Regions from separate parts of the Homo sapiens genome. Here all the other regions are linked to region 5. The links are contacts of gene promoters, found by promoter capture Hi-C in human tissues and cell types (Jung and others, 2019). All regions are on one chromosome and are shown on one strand. The core of a region is centred on a gene start or on the middle of the fragment in contact, and the rest is flanking DNA. Distances in the headings are between cores, read along the strand shown.

The links. Contacts are between HindIII fragments. The study calls those that stand out against the background at their distance.
Region 1: a fragment that was not itself captured here is called in contact with the fragment with the promoter of ADCK2 in region 5 in 1 of the 25 tissues and cell types used here (hippocampus).
Region 2: a contact is called between a fragment that was not itself captured here and the fragment with the promoter of ADCK2 in region 5, in 1 of the 25 tissues and cell types used here (thymus).
Region 3: a fragment that was not itself captured here is called in contact with the fragment with the promoter of ADCK2 in region 5 in 4 of the 25 tissues and cell types used here (dorsolateral prefrontal cortex, lymphoblastoid cells, mesenchymal stem cells and 1 more).
Region 4: a fragment that was not itself captured here is called in contact with the fragment with the promoter of ADCK2 in region 5 in 1 of the 25 tissues and cell types used here (dorsolateral prefrontal cortex).

The regions. Positions count from the first base shown.
Region 1 is chr7:141,654,222-141,656,921 of GRCh38, reverse strand. It overlaps AGK (acylglycerol kinase), which reads right to left. Exons shown (of 16, transcript NM_018238.4): 16 at 1,678-2,700. DENND11 (DENN domain containing 11) reads left to right here. Exons shown (of 9, transcript NM_001080392.2): 9 at 1-194. Among named protein-coding and RNA genes, the nearest start is that of DENND11, 47 kb to the left of the region's middle. The HindIII fragment of the contact is 3,669 bases long and covers 1-2,700 here.
Region 2 is chr7:141,218,168-141,220,867 of GRCh38, reverse strand. All of the region lies in intron 2 of TMEM178B (transmembrane protein 178B), which reads right to left. Among named protein-coding and RNA genes, the nearest start is that of TMEM178B, 150 kb to the right of the region's middle. The HindIII fragment of the contact is 6,566 bases long and covers 1-2,700 here.
Region 3 is chr7:141,535,419-141,538,118 of GRCh38, reverse strand. All of the region lies in intron 1 of AGK-DT (AGK divergent transcript), which reads left to right. Among named protein-coding and RNA genes, the nearest start is that of AGK-DT, 15 kb to the left of the region's middle. The HindIII fragment of the contact is 4,128 bases long and covers 1-2,700 here.
Region 4 is chr7:141,241,709-141,244,408 of GRCh38, reverse strand. The region is part of intron 2 of TMEM178B (transmembrane protein 178B); the gene reads right to left. Among named protein-coding and RNA genes, the nearest start is that of TMEM178B, 170 kb to the right of the region's middle. The HindIII fragment of the contact is 3,481 bases long and covers 1-2,700 here.
Region 5 is chr7:140,671,548-140,674,247 of GRCh38, reverse strand. It overlaps ADCK2 (aarF domain containing kinase 2), which reads right to left and starts at 1,303. Exons shown (of 8, transcript NM_052853.4): 1 at 1-1,303. The coding sequence starts at 917. RefSeq lists a silencer at 909-1,368. The HindIII fragment of the contact is 30,105 bases long and covers 1-2,700 here.

The sequences.
Region 1 (2,700 bases), core at 151-2,650, 980 kb before region 5:
AGGCCTAAAGAAAGCTGGGGTTAATCCTGAAGCTAAAAGTAAATGTTTCTTGAATTGATTTTGTTCTGTGGTACAAATAACATCTATGAATATCATATCTGTATATATCTGAACCAAGTTGTGTGCAGAGAGGTTGATATAACTATATTTACAGAAAATGATTTTTACAATTAAAGTTCACATTTTAACATGAACGTGCGTGCTGCAATCCCTTCTCCAGTCCGAGAAATGTGGTTTGTGGTAGGAAGGAATGGTGGCCTACTCCATGAGCAGAGCCTGTGGGGGCTGAACCTGACTTCACTTACAGTGATGATGGAGGAGATTGGGGAGCTGCTACCTGTCCTTCTAGAAGCCACGGTCTGGACAAACTTTCTCCAGGTAATGGGAAACAAAGTTGGGAATAACTGCGCCACCCAGAAGAGCCAGGGCTGTGTACCCTTAATTACATCAGGAAACTTCTAGAATCCCACAGAGACCACCACCCTTTTACTTTACAAACTCTCTTATCAAAGTTCAGTTTAAAACTTTATGTACTTGATATATATTTGGTATATGTGTATATTCTAAACTTTTATTTCATTTTTAACCTCTTGGGGAGTTACAGTATGTATTTAGAACCGGTATAGAGTACATTGCTATCGGTGGCTCTGTAAATCAAATGGCCTGGATTCAAAGTCAGGTTCCTATTTTCTGTGCTATGTAACCATATATTATTACAGGCTGAGTATCCCTTATTCGAAATGCTTGGGACTTAGAAGTATTTTCAGATTTCAGATGTTTTAGGATTTTAGAATCTTTGCATTATAAATCCAAAATCCAAAATGTTCCACTGGGCACTTCCTTTAAGGATCATGGTGGCACTCAAAAACTTTCGGATTTTGGAGCATTTCAGATTTCGCCTTTTCAGATTAGGGATGCTCAACCTGTAGCTACTTCCTAGGGTTGTTGTGAGAACTGATGCATCAGTTACATATGTGAAGCACTGGCACTTAGGAAATATAACTGCATCCAGATATGTGCAAAACAGCTGTGAGGGAAAGGAAAAAAGCTTTATTTAAAACCCTATCTTAATAGAAAGCAACTACGGTTTTTTTTTTTTTTTTTTTTTTTTGAGACGGAGTCTTGCTCTGTCACCCAGGCTGGAGTGCAGAGTGGTGCGATCCCGGCTCACTGCAACCTCTGCCTCCCGGGTTCAAGCGATTCTCCTGCCTCAGCCTCCAGAGTAGCTGGGACTACAGGCACATGCCACCATGCCCAGCTAATTTTTGTATTTTTAGTAGAGATGGGATTTCACCACGTTGGCCAGGCTGGTCTCGAGCTCCTGACCTCAGGTGATCCACCTTCCTTGGCCTCCCAAAGTGCTGGGATTAATCTTTGCATTTGAGTGAAATTAATCTGTCAAAAAGTTTGTACTAAACAATCACCTGGGAAGGGTGGCCGACTTCCCAATGCAGATTCCTGGGCCCCATCCCCAAATTGGGTTATTAGGATCTCCTCCAGATAGCTCAGCATTCCAGCTTTGGCTGACAAGCCTCACTCAGCTGACTCTCTTTTAGTTGCACTATTAAACGTCTTCCATGCAGGCTTTATAGGGAAGGACAAGGCAAAGAACAAAGCAGTCAACAATAAGGAAACCAAGCCCTCACAGGAAAGAAAGCCTGAATCAAGAAAACAAAGTTTGAAACAAGGCATATTTATATTTAAAAATGAATAAGATTCTAAAGTGGCTTCCATATCCTTCCCTAATTATATGTACCATTATGATTAGAACCACAAAATGAGCACACATAAACACACACTGGTAGCCTATCAGAAAAGAAAGCCAGATTCTGCACTGGTCCTTGATATTGTTACAGAACCACGATATGCTAAATGCTCTCAGCTCAGGTGAAAACTTTTGTTTTCATATACTACAGCATCCTTCCTCCCTACCTGTGGGTGGTATGGGATGAGTGATCTTTATGCTGATGTTTGGAACCGTCTGTTATGTTTTTGCCAAAAGCAGAAATTTTACCACCCTGAAGAATACAGTATGAAATAAGAAAGCCTTCCTTTTTGTGATCTTCATTCATGGACTTTTCATAGCTGTTCTGTAATCTACTAAAGCATTGGTCTCTCTCCATGGGATGTGTGGGCATGGTGTATGTATCTTAAAAGGGATCTGCCTGAGAGAGAGCCTGTAGCTAAGGCCTGCCAGCTCTGCTTCCTCCCCTTCCCCCTCGCAATCCTCCCTCATTGATCTATCTTCCTGTGGTGCACTGCCCCCTAGAGTGTAAGAACCTCAGGGCCACTGAACAAAGGAAAATGTCAGCGATAGTAAAAGTAAATGGTGCTAATGACTGGCTGGCAAAGCCATGGTAAATCAGGTGGATTTCAGTTCTCTGCTTTCAACAGACTAAAGGAGAATCTAATCAAGTTGTTTGTTAGTTGATAGATCATCATTAATAATTCTTGATGATAGAGCACTGTGATCTTTGTCAAAATGCCAAAGGAATCCAAAGAACTGTAAAAACATTGTTAACGTAATTCTATTCCATCGAATTTATGTGCTTACATCTATACAGAAACAAGGAATACAGCTGAGGTTGAACCCCATCTCAGCTGTAAATCACATTCATGTATTCTTGGATAAATGAACTAATTAGGATAAAGAACATTCTAATAAAAAAACTTTTAATCATCCAAGAATTAATACCGTTT
Region 2 (2,700 bases), core at 8-2,507, 550 kb before region 5:
ACAGACACTCCACAACCATTGAATGAACAAATGAACAAATGGATGAAGGCGGACAGTGGGGTTGTTCTCCCAGTTCTCCTTCATGGTGTGGTGTCCGTATCAGTGCGCTCAGCCAGAAGAAAACCACTTCCAATCTGCAGAAGCTGAGAGAATGCCTCCAGGCCAGACTTCCAACTAATTCCCAGCACAAAATTGGACCTGTGCGTTCACATGAATTGTGGCTTGAAGACTGTAATTATACCAGCACAGTGGTTCTTAGGTTTTGTTCAGGACGTGGATGTTTTTAACAGAAAAGGCTGTACTGTACTCCCTCCCACCCCTACTCCAGGCCTCCTCCCTTCCCTCCCCCTAGGTCATCTCAAAAATAAACTCTCCCTCTTATCCATGTAGAGGGCGCCCTTGTATAGGCAGCCATGCTACAGCGCATTTTAATCACTGACCCCCAGCCAGGCCAGCTATCTAAGTAGGTGGGACCCACAGCTGTACATGCACATGCATTTATTATTTTATTATTATTATTATTATTATTATTATTATTATTATTATTATTATTATTTGAGATGGAGTTTCACTGTCACCCAGGCTGAAGTAAAGCAGCACGAGCTCCACTCACTGCAAACTCCACCTCCCAGGTTCAAGCAATTCTCCTGCCTCTGCCTCAGCCTCCCAAGTATGGCATATGTCACCACGCCCAGCTAATTTTTGTATTTTTAGTAAAGACGAGTTTCACTATGTTAGCCAGACTGGTCTCGAACCCTGATCTCAAGTGATCCAGCTGTCTCGGCCTCCCAAAGTGTTGGGATTTCAGGCACGAGACACCATGCCTGGCCCAACATTCATAATTTTAAAGCGTCTCTACGTTACCTATAATTCCCTTGCCATCATTCCTTGGGGCAGGCCTCCTGAAAAATAAAAATGCTATCCAGGGAAGGTAATCCAAGAACACATTAACCCCCTAACTCAAGCATGTTCATCAAATCAGTAAGCCTGTTCTCCAACAGAAACCTGAGGGAATGGGACAAATAAGAGGTCAGTTTTGACAGGCAGGAAAGCTGAGAGGGAAAGGAAGTGTCCTGGCATGAGTTACTTCTGCAAGAACAGATCTTGGTGCAATATCACATTAAGGGGTTTGTGTTCTCTGCCTGGCCTGGTGCATAAATACCACCAGAGCTCTGGGAGGACAGGCACAAGGCAGTGGGTATACTGAAAGGTTTACAAGATTCTCTGCAGGGGCCGGGTTGGGGCAGAGACACAAGGAATGGTTTGCAAAAAGCAAAGACTTCAGGACTCAAGGCAACCTATGATGACACGCTGTTGGCTGAGTCTTCTTGCTACCAAGTTTTTCTAGTTCTGGGGCAAGGAGGTGGTTTCTTGCTAGTGATGACCCCTGTGGATCCCAGTCTTGCAAGCAAGAGGCAGCTAACAACAGATCGCAAACAGTAAGAGCCTCATACTGGCTGAGCACCGATGCGAATGTGGGAGAAGGAAAATGGCTGATGCTGCAGGGGACCTGAGCTTCTAATGTCTGGGATGTTTACCTCATTAGGCTGTTTTCCATAACATCAGCCAAAAACATGAAGAAAAAAATAGCTGGAGGGACCCTACTGGAGCTCAGGCCTGGATTCTGAGCCCTCACCCTCGGATTCCTCTGAGGTCTGAGATGGGACCTCTAGGCAGCCCCTCCCACTGGCTCGGTTACCTCATCTGCAAAGGAGCCACAACAACACGGGAGGGACTCCTGGGAGGAAACGTCGAGTGATCCTCTGAGCAGCATTACAGCTGACTGAACAAAAAGAGGTGCTTACTGTTGTTATTACTGTTAGTTTCATCCCAAGCCCTTTGGTCCACAGCATTCATCTTCTCATAACAAGGATGGCTGGGGGAGGACGGACCAGGTGTCTAGGCAGCTCCCAGGCTGAGAAAGCCAGAGAGTTCTGAGTGGGAAGAAAGTTCAGAAGGTGGCCATTCTACATTGGAGCAGGCTGGGCTAGAACTGGCCAGCTGAGTCCACTGGGAAAGGGAAGGCAGGTACCATCAGGGAAAGAGCCAACACAAGTTCAGGGTGAGAAGGTTGATGCCAGTGGGGAGGGGAGGACCCAGGGTGGCTGGAGAGAGTCTAGACAGCACCAGGGACCCTGGGGTTCAAGGGCAGGACCCTCTAATTCTGGAAAGGGAGAGGGTGAGGAAGAGGGCACCGGAGAGTCCAGGTGTGGGGGGCCGGGTTGGGCTTAGCCAAGAAACATAAGTTAAGAGTCCTGCCCCAAGATCCACACCAGAGCACCAGGACACGCTGGGCTTCCCACCATACACCAGCCTGGGGTCAGGACTGGTCCCTTAAGACTGAGCCAACCCACAGGCAGTGGTGAGAGATCAAGAGCTGTGGGGACAGGGAGCCAAGTGTGTCATCCACATGTCTGCAGTAAGTGAGACAGTTCTGGATTTTTACTTCTTGTCCCTCCTAGTGGTATGGACACTAAAATGTCCCTGCTCATCCACAAAGTCTTGGTCTCCTGCCTCCCTTCCTCCATCCCCACTGCTCCCTCCCTCCTCTTCTCCTCTCTTCTCCCTCCCTCTGCCAGCCAGGCTGTACCCTGCTTCAGGATGGCTCCTTGGCACTGACGTTCTCTGCCCCAGGTGTGCAAGGATCCACTGTGCTGGTGAAGGCGAGGACCCCCAATGCTGTAGATGAGAAGCCTGTTC
Region 3 (2,700 bases), core at 11-2,510, 860 kb before region 5:
TGTCAAACTAGTTTCCAAACTGGTTGCACTCCTTTACATTCCTGGAAGCAGGATATGAGACTTCCAATGGCTCCACATCCTCACCAGCACTTGGTATGTTAGTTTTAAAACTGAAGACATCCTAATATATCTAATCATCTGTGGAAGATATTGACAAAGCATCTGTTGAAATGTTTTGCCCATTTAAAAAATTCTTCTTATTGAATTGTTAAAGTTCTTTATATATTTTAGATACAAATCCCTTTCAGATATATTTTGCAAATATTTTCTTCCAGTCTATGTTGTGCTTTATTTTTATAACAGTGCTTTTTGAAAAGCAAAAGCTTTACATTTGGTGAAGTACAATTTATTGATTTTTTTTCTTTTATAGTTCATATTTGTAGGGCCCATTTAAGAGTTTTTTGCTTAATGCAATATCATTCCGATTTCTCCGATTTTTTTTTTCTTGCAGAAGTTTTATAATTTTTATTTTTATTTTTTGGTTAGGTCTATTACCTATTTTAAGTTAATATTTGTGAACTGTGTGAGGTAGGGGTTGAGGTTCTTTTTCCCATATGCCTCTCTTCAGTTGTTCCAATGTTATTTCTTTTCTTTTCTTTTCTTTTCTTTCTTTTCTTCCTTTTTTTTTTTTTTTTTCTTTTTGAAATGGAGTTTCTCTCTTGTCGCCCAGGCTAGAGTGCAATGGTGCGATCTCGGCTCACTGCTATCTCTGCCTCCAGTATTCAAGCGATTCTCCTGCCTCAGCCTCCTGAGTAACTGGGATTACAGGCACATGCCACCATGCCCAGCTAATTTTGTATTTTTAGTAGAGATGGGGTTTCACTATGTTGGCCAGGCTGGTCTCAAACTCCCGACCTCAGGTGGTCCACCCGCCTTGTCCTCCCAAAGTGCTGGGATTACAGGCATGAGCCATGGTGCCTGGCCCAACATTATTTCTTAAAATGCCATCCTTTCTTCCACTGACTTACCTTGGCAAATCATTGAACCATGTATGTATGGAGTTTTTCTGGATTCTTTACTCTGTTTTATTGATCTGTATGTCCATCTTTATGCCAATACCATGCTATCGTGATTAATAAGGCTCTTTAGTAAGTCTTGAAATTGGCTAGTTTAAGTCCTCAATTTTGTTCTCTTTTCTCAAAATATTTTGGCTATTCTAAGTCCTTCGAATTTCTATACAGAGTTTAGAATCATCTTGTCAATTTATTTTTTGTCTACAAAAAATAAAACTGTGCTTGTGATCCAGATTATGTTGAATTTATAGACCAATTTAAGATTTAATCATTTTATAAAATTGAGTCTTCCGATTTATAAATATGGTATTTATCTCCATTTATTTGGGTATTATTTCATTTTTCTTAGTAATGTTTCTTAAGTTTAAGTGTACATGTCTTGCACCATATTTTGTTAAATATATTTCAGTGTTTTCCACTGTTTAGTACTGTTATACATGGTATTGTTTAAATTTCCATTTCCAATTGTTGATTACTAGAATATAGATATACATTTTTTTTTTTTTGAGATGGAGTTTCACTAATGGCGCAATCTCGGCTCACTGCAACCTCCACCTCCTGGGTTCAAGCGATTCTCCTGCCTCAGCCTCCCGAGTAGCTGGGATTACCGGCGCCTACCACTATGCCCAGCTAATTTTTTGTAAATTTAGTAGAGACAGGGTTTCACCATGTTGGCCAGGCTGGTCTCGAACTCCTGACTTCAGGTGATCCACCCACTTTGGCCTCCCAGAGTGCTGGGATTATAGGCATGAGCCACTTTGACCGGCCTAGATTACTTTTTTTTTTTTTTTTGAGACAGTTTCACTCTTGTTGCCCAGGCTGCAGTGCAATTGCACGATCTCGGCTCACAGCAACCTCCACCTCCTGGGTTCAAGTGATTCTCCTGCCTTAGCCTCCCGAGTAGCTGGGATTACAGGCATGCACCACCACGCCCGGCTAATTTTGTATTTTTAGTAGAGACAGGATTTCTCCATGTTGGTCAGGCTTGTCTCGAACTCCCGACCTCAGGTGATCTGCCCACCTCAGCCTCCCAAAGTGCTGGGATTATAGGCATGAGCTATGGCTCCCAGCCTAGATATACTTTTTTTTTTTTTTTTACATTCATGTAAAAAATGGATACTGTAACTTTACTAAATACACTTCCTTGGTATAGTACATTTTGTAGTTGTTAGGATTTTCCATGTATGCAATCATGTCATATGCAAATAAGGGCAGTTTTACTTTTTGCTTTTCAATCTCAATATTTTTTATCTCTTTATTTCTTTATATTATCAATTAGTATTTAAGGGGACTATTGCATAGAATTGGTGAGAGTAGATATTCTTGTCTAGTTCCTGATTTGGGGAGAAAAGCATTCTGAATCTCACCGTTAAGAGTTATCTTAGCTATATATTTTTCATAGGTGCTCTTCATCAGGTTAAGGAAGTTTCTTGCATTTCTAGTTTTCTGGGAGTTTTTATCATGAATCGTTGCTGTATTTTTTTGGCATCTATCTGTCTGCTCCTATGCTAGATTTAGGACTGGGATGAGAGTCCCAGTATAAATAGCACTGAATCCACTGGCAGAGGCTATGTGACACAGGAAAATGGAACAGACAAGCTTGGGGTTACAGACTCAGACAGTCATTGACGCTCTTTCTCCCAAACCTCCCTGAAGCTATTTGAAATTTTCCAGTTAAAGGAGGCTT
Region 4 (2,700 bases), core at 185-2,684, 570 kb before region 5:
CAGTTATCCCAGTCATAGCTACCTTCAAGGCTCAATTTTAGTCCTAAGTCATCTCTCCCTTCTCTGAATGTCTGATGCATTTATTTGCCATAGTATCATTTGGGTACTTAATACAACACTGCTTTGCACAGTTACCTGTTTCGTGAGTTACGTTTTACACCGTCAGTTATGTTACATAGACATACTTCCAAGCTCTGGATGAAAGGAACTGTATGGATTTTTTTAAAGGACCTGTCTACCCTGGCACATAAGTAAATGAGCTGAGCTTTATGCAATGCTTATCTCAGGACCTGGTGCAAAATAACAGCCTAAAAATATAGGTTTGAAAAAATCGTGAGAAACATTTGGTAAACTGAATAAGACTGAACTGCACAAAACGCTCCCCCAAAATGTCCGCAGCCCCGGTTTTGCCTCTTCTACCAGCTCTAGTGGAAGGCTATGAATACTGGACCGTCATGAGGGCAGGCATTGTGGAGGACACAGGTACACAGGGGTATTCAGTGGTGGATACATGTTTGGGTCTTGACAGGTCAAGCAAAAATGGTCCACACGGACTTGAATTATTCCAGGAGTGAAATGGAACATGAAAATACACTCGCCACTATTACTTTCCTTCCCCTCATAACTTTTAATAATACAAATGTTTGGCTTCACCTCTTCTCAGCCCTGTCACTGGCTGCATGGCTGGCAATGAGAACGAGAATGTTCTGCAAAATAGATCTGGGCCCATGGGCCAGTACAGTAGGGGAACCACAAAGAGTGCAGCTGGATTTGAGAAGGAGGAAGGAAGCCGAGGCCCAGCGAGGAGAGTGACCTGGTAACGGTCACACTTCTACTGGCCCAAATTAACCTGAGGTTCCTGCCTCACTCCCCTCTGCTCCCCTTCCTCCAGTCTCCGTTTGAGGACACCACCAGCCCCTGCTGACGTTTCCCTCAGCTTCATCAGCATCTCACATCCTTGGTTAAGAGGCTTCTTCCTACTTCTGATGGCTGCCATAACCCCATAGAGCAGAGCTGACCGCGCTCCACCCCTTACAAAGACAGAAGTGCTGAGAGACTTCAGTGTCATTTTTAATCTCCAAGCAGAAGTTAACGGTTGGAGTCAAAAACAAAAGAACAAAAATCCACAAGTGACCATCCCAGAGGCCCTCTCTGCAAAACCACACACAGAGTCCCAGGCTGACCTCGCATGGACTCCGAGAAAGAGACAATTCTCCCCTTCATTAGTCAATGACCCGAAAAAAAGGCAATCAAGCCAGGGTCACATGACTTTGGTTGTTTGGGGTTTGTTTAAGTTTTACTTTATTTAACGTGAATGAAAAATCTAAACTGTCTCTCTTATTTTATTCCTGGGGATTTAAAGCTAGCCAACACACAAAAGAACATTTAAAAAATAGACTTTGTGCCTAGTTCAAGAAGAAAATCAGATGCAAAAGGAGGAGAAAGAGGAAGAAAAAAAGGTAGATGGAGGGAAAAGTGGAAAACAATGACATAAAGACAGGAGACAGGAGTGAATGCAACTCAAAGGCAGAGAGACAGCAGCTGGAATCTCAGATAAAGAATCGGGGCCTGGCACGGTGGCTCATGCCTGTAACCCCCGCACTCTGGGAGGCAGAGGTGAGCAAATCACTTGCGGTTAGGAGTTTGAGACCAGCCTGGCCAATGTGGTGAAACTCTGTCTCTACTGAAAATATACAAAAATTAGCCTGGCATGGTGACAAGCACCTGTAATCCCAGCTGCCCGGGAGCTGAGGCAGGAGAATCACTTGAACCTGGGAGGCAGAGGCTGCAGTGAGCCAGGATCATGCCACTGCACTCCACCCTGGGCAACAGAGTGAGATTCCGTCTCAAAAAAAAAAAAAAAAAAGGAAAAGAATCGGGAAGGTAGGTAATGGAGAAACACACACACACACACACACACACACACACACTCACACAAAGTGTGAAAATAGCCACAGAGCGAATACCATGAGGAAATCACTATGCAGTTCTGCTCTGTTTATATTGTTTGTTTCAATTCAACAGTACTTTAAAAGATTCTAAAATAGCCGGGCATGTGGCTATTGATTAGCTGAAATGTGGCTACTGGGATTGAGAAAGTAAATTTCGACTTTGATGTAATTTTAATCAAACTTCCACTTAAATTTTAAAATGAAGGCAATATAAAGCCTGTTGCCACTAAACACAACTTTGTTTGGTAGGACTACTTTTCACTCTGCTTCAAAGTCAATCTGCTTCAAAGTTAATCTTATTTCAAAAAGATAAACCAGTTCTATTAATAGGAGCATGAATATTAGAGCTGATTTTTTGGGACTCAATTCAGTTATTAAAAAGCTTTTAAATATGTCTGGAATAACTTGGATATGTGCATTCACATTTTCAATTGTCAGTTTTATGGACTCTATAAAACTATAGATCAAGTATTTCTGATGAAAATGTAGCACCCAAATTCAGATGTGTTTTAAGTACACCAGATTTTGAAAACTTAGTGCAAAAAAAAAGATCTCTCGATAAATTTTACATTGATTATTCATTGAAACAAGAATAATATTTTGGATATATAGGGCCAAGTAAAATACACTATTAAATTTAAGTCAACCCATTCCTTTTTACTTTTTCTAATGTGGCTACTGGAAAATCTAAAATTAGGTATGTAGTTCATGTGTTTCAACTAGCCAGGCCTATTCTGAAGGAAGCAAA
Region 5 (2,700 bases), core at 54-2,553:
ATGAGGTTGGTGGCCTCAGGTTGGTGGCCAGGGACCTGAGCCCGAGACACCCCTGCATTTGATCCAACCAGGTCAGCTTTAGGGAGGAGCAGCCTTTCTAGAAACGACTGGTCTGCGAGATTTTCTGGAGGTTTCCGGCCATTTCCAAGGTATCCAAAGAGCTCTCTCAGCCCACCGACTGCCCCAGTATGTGAGAAGGGCGGCAGACAGGAGGCCCTGCCAAGTCTCTGGACGCTGTCAGTCTCCAGGAAGGCAGTGTTGGCGTATGCTTTGTACACCTGGGCCACGCAGCCTGAGCCCACAGGTTCCCGGTTCTCAAAAGAGAGGATGCTCCCCCAGTCATCCCCAAAAGCCTGCCGAAGGAAGCGCTCAGTGTGAGTCCACGGGTGGGGCGTCACTCGGACATGCAGCTTGGAAAATTGGGCACAGAAAGCCTCCGAAAACAGATCGCGCCGGGTGCTGGCCCACTGGCCCAGTTTGATGTAGGTTGGGCCTGAGGTCTCGGTGGCTTTCAGAAGCAGGTGGAGCCAGAGGGTGGAGACGCTGGGAGCCAGGTAGGTGAGGGGGTAGAGGAGTAGGAGGGGGAAGAATTTCACCAACAGAGCGCCGGCGCGAAGCCAGAGGCGGAGATGCAGGAAGACGCCGCCCAGAGGTCCCGCTCGGGGGAGGCTCTCCGCGGGCCCCGCGCCAGCCGCCCCGCTGCAGCGGACCCTTCGCCGACTCAGAACGTCAGGGGCCCCCTCACCCACGTCCCCGCACAGGGAGACGACCTTGGGCAAAGTGCCCAGCAGAAGCCAGCAGAGCCTGGCATCGCGAGGGCACTCGGAGGGCCTCAGGAGGCTGAGTCCCTGTCTGAGCTCGAAGCACCTCAGGTGCGACAGGCAAACCCTGACGGAGACGCGCCAGGGCGCCACCATCCTCCCGAGGCCCGCGGCCCAGGCGGCCCGCCCTCCACTTCAGAGGCGCCCGCTCAGGCGAGGCTGCGGTGAAGCCGAAGCCCGGCCCTGACCCCGCGGACGGAGCTGCCCATCTGGGCCGGATCCGCGCCCCGCTCCCTCCAGCACCTCGCCGGGCCTCAGGCCGGAGGCCCGCGCCCCGCCCGACACCCGCCGCGCCGCGCCGCGCCGCGCGGAAGGGGCTGTCAGACGGCACCAACTGCGGAACGGGAGGAGCCAGGACCCACGCGAAGCCAGGCCCCGGGCGCCCGCGACCTGAGCGAGGGGGCCGCGCGGGCGGAGGCAGGGGCCGGGCAGCCGCAGGGTCACCGTGCGCCCAGGGGCCAGTATGAGATCGCTGGGGTGGCGGGCACCAGCCCAGGGCGCGGGCGCAGGCGGGGGCCGGGAGGGCGGGGCGGAGCGTGGAGGGCGGGCGGAGCGTCGGGGGCGGAGCGTCGGGGGCGGGCGGGAGTGCAGGTGCAGGGAACCGAGGCACCGAGGGCTGTGGTGGAGCGGAGGGGCGCGGGAGATGGATGGGACGGGTTCGGCCACTAGGTTGAAACCGCCATTGCAAAATTATAACAGATAATGAAAGAGATCTGACCTAACCAACTCCATCTTGCTTCTAACCTCCAAGCTGTCCTTGTTCATTCCTGGGCGTTGGCTGAACTAACTTTGGGAGGAACTTAGTTTATACTTTATAGTTTAAAACAAAGATGATAACAGCCCTTTCTGAAAACAAACCTCCTTCTTGCCTGGGGAATAGACTGTCTTTGTAGGACTAACAAATTAACCAAAAGATTAGAAAGTATGATTTAGGAGTCAGGCAGCAAGGCTACAGTATTCTGACCCTCCCTAAACTGCTAATAAGATCAGTGCTCAAGATATTTTGCAGACCCTGCACTTGATGGATCAACTGACACCTACCAGATCGATAAACCAGGTCATCTGATCTTAGGCCCCCACTCCGGAACTAACTCAGCACAAGAGGACAGCTTCAGTTCCCTAAGATTTCACCTCCGACCCAACCAATCAGCACTCTCGACTCACTGGCCTTCCCCCACCCACCAAGTTGTCCTTAAAAACTCTGCCCAGTGTCCCGCGCAGCCTGATCTGTGTGAATTACTCCTTCTCTATTGCAATGCCCCTGTCTTGATAAATCGGCTCTGTCTAGGCAGCAGGCAAGGTGAACCCGCTGGGCTGTTACAGGGTGGCCGGTGGGGGCAGAGGGCTGGGTGCTGGGCGGTGAGGGTCGGAGGGAGCAGAGGGTCGGTGGCAGAGGCCCGGGCAGCCAGGGTCCCTTGACCCGCCCCTTAAAGAGGACGGCGACCCCAGGCCAAGACCACCCTGCCCTTGAGTCCTGGGTCCTGGGTAGCAAAACGCAAAGGCACCCTCTATGTCCCCCTCCCCATGTCTATCTTCCCACTGACTTCTTCGTATCTTTCATTATTCCAAAGAGCATGGCTGAAAAGTATGAAGGCAGGTTCTGAACACAGGTCCGCTTTTCAGCGGGGGTTGGGTAGGGGGGTGGTGTTGGATGGGGGTAACTGGGCTGCAGGAGTAGGAACTGGATGCTGTGTCCTCGGCTGCATTAATTCGGCAATTGTGTTGGACCTTGGGGAAAGGCTCCGGAAAGGCCATATTCATTCATTCAATAATACTCACTGAGCCCAATAAATATTTCTTGAGCCCAATCTCATATTTGTCGAGGCTCAATAATATGTACTGATCAAGCTAGGTCATGTGCTGGACCCTGGGAAAGCGG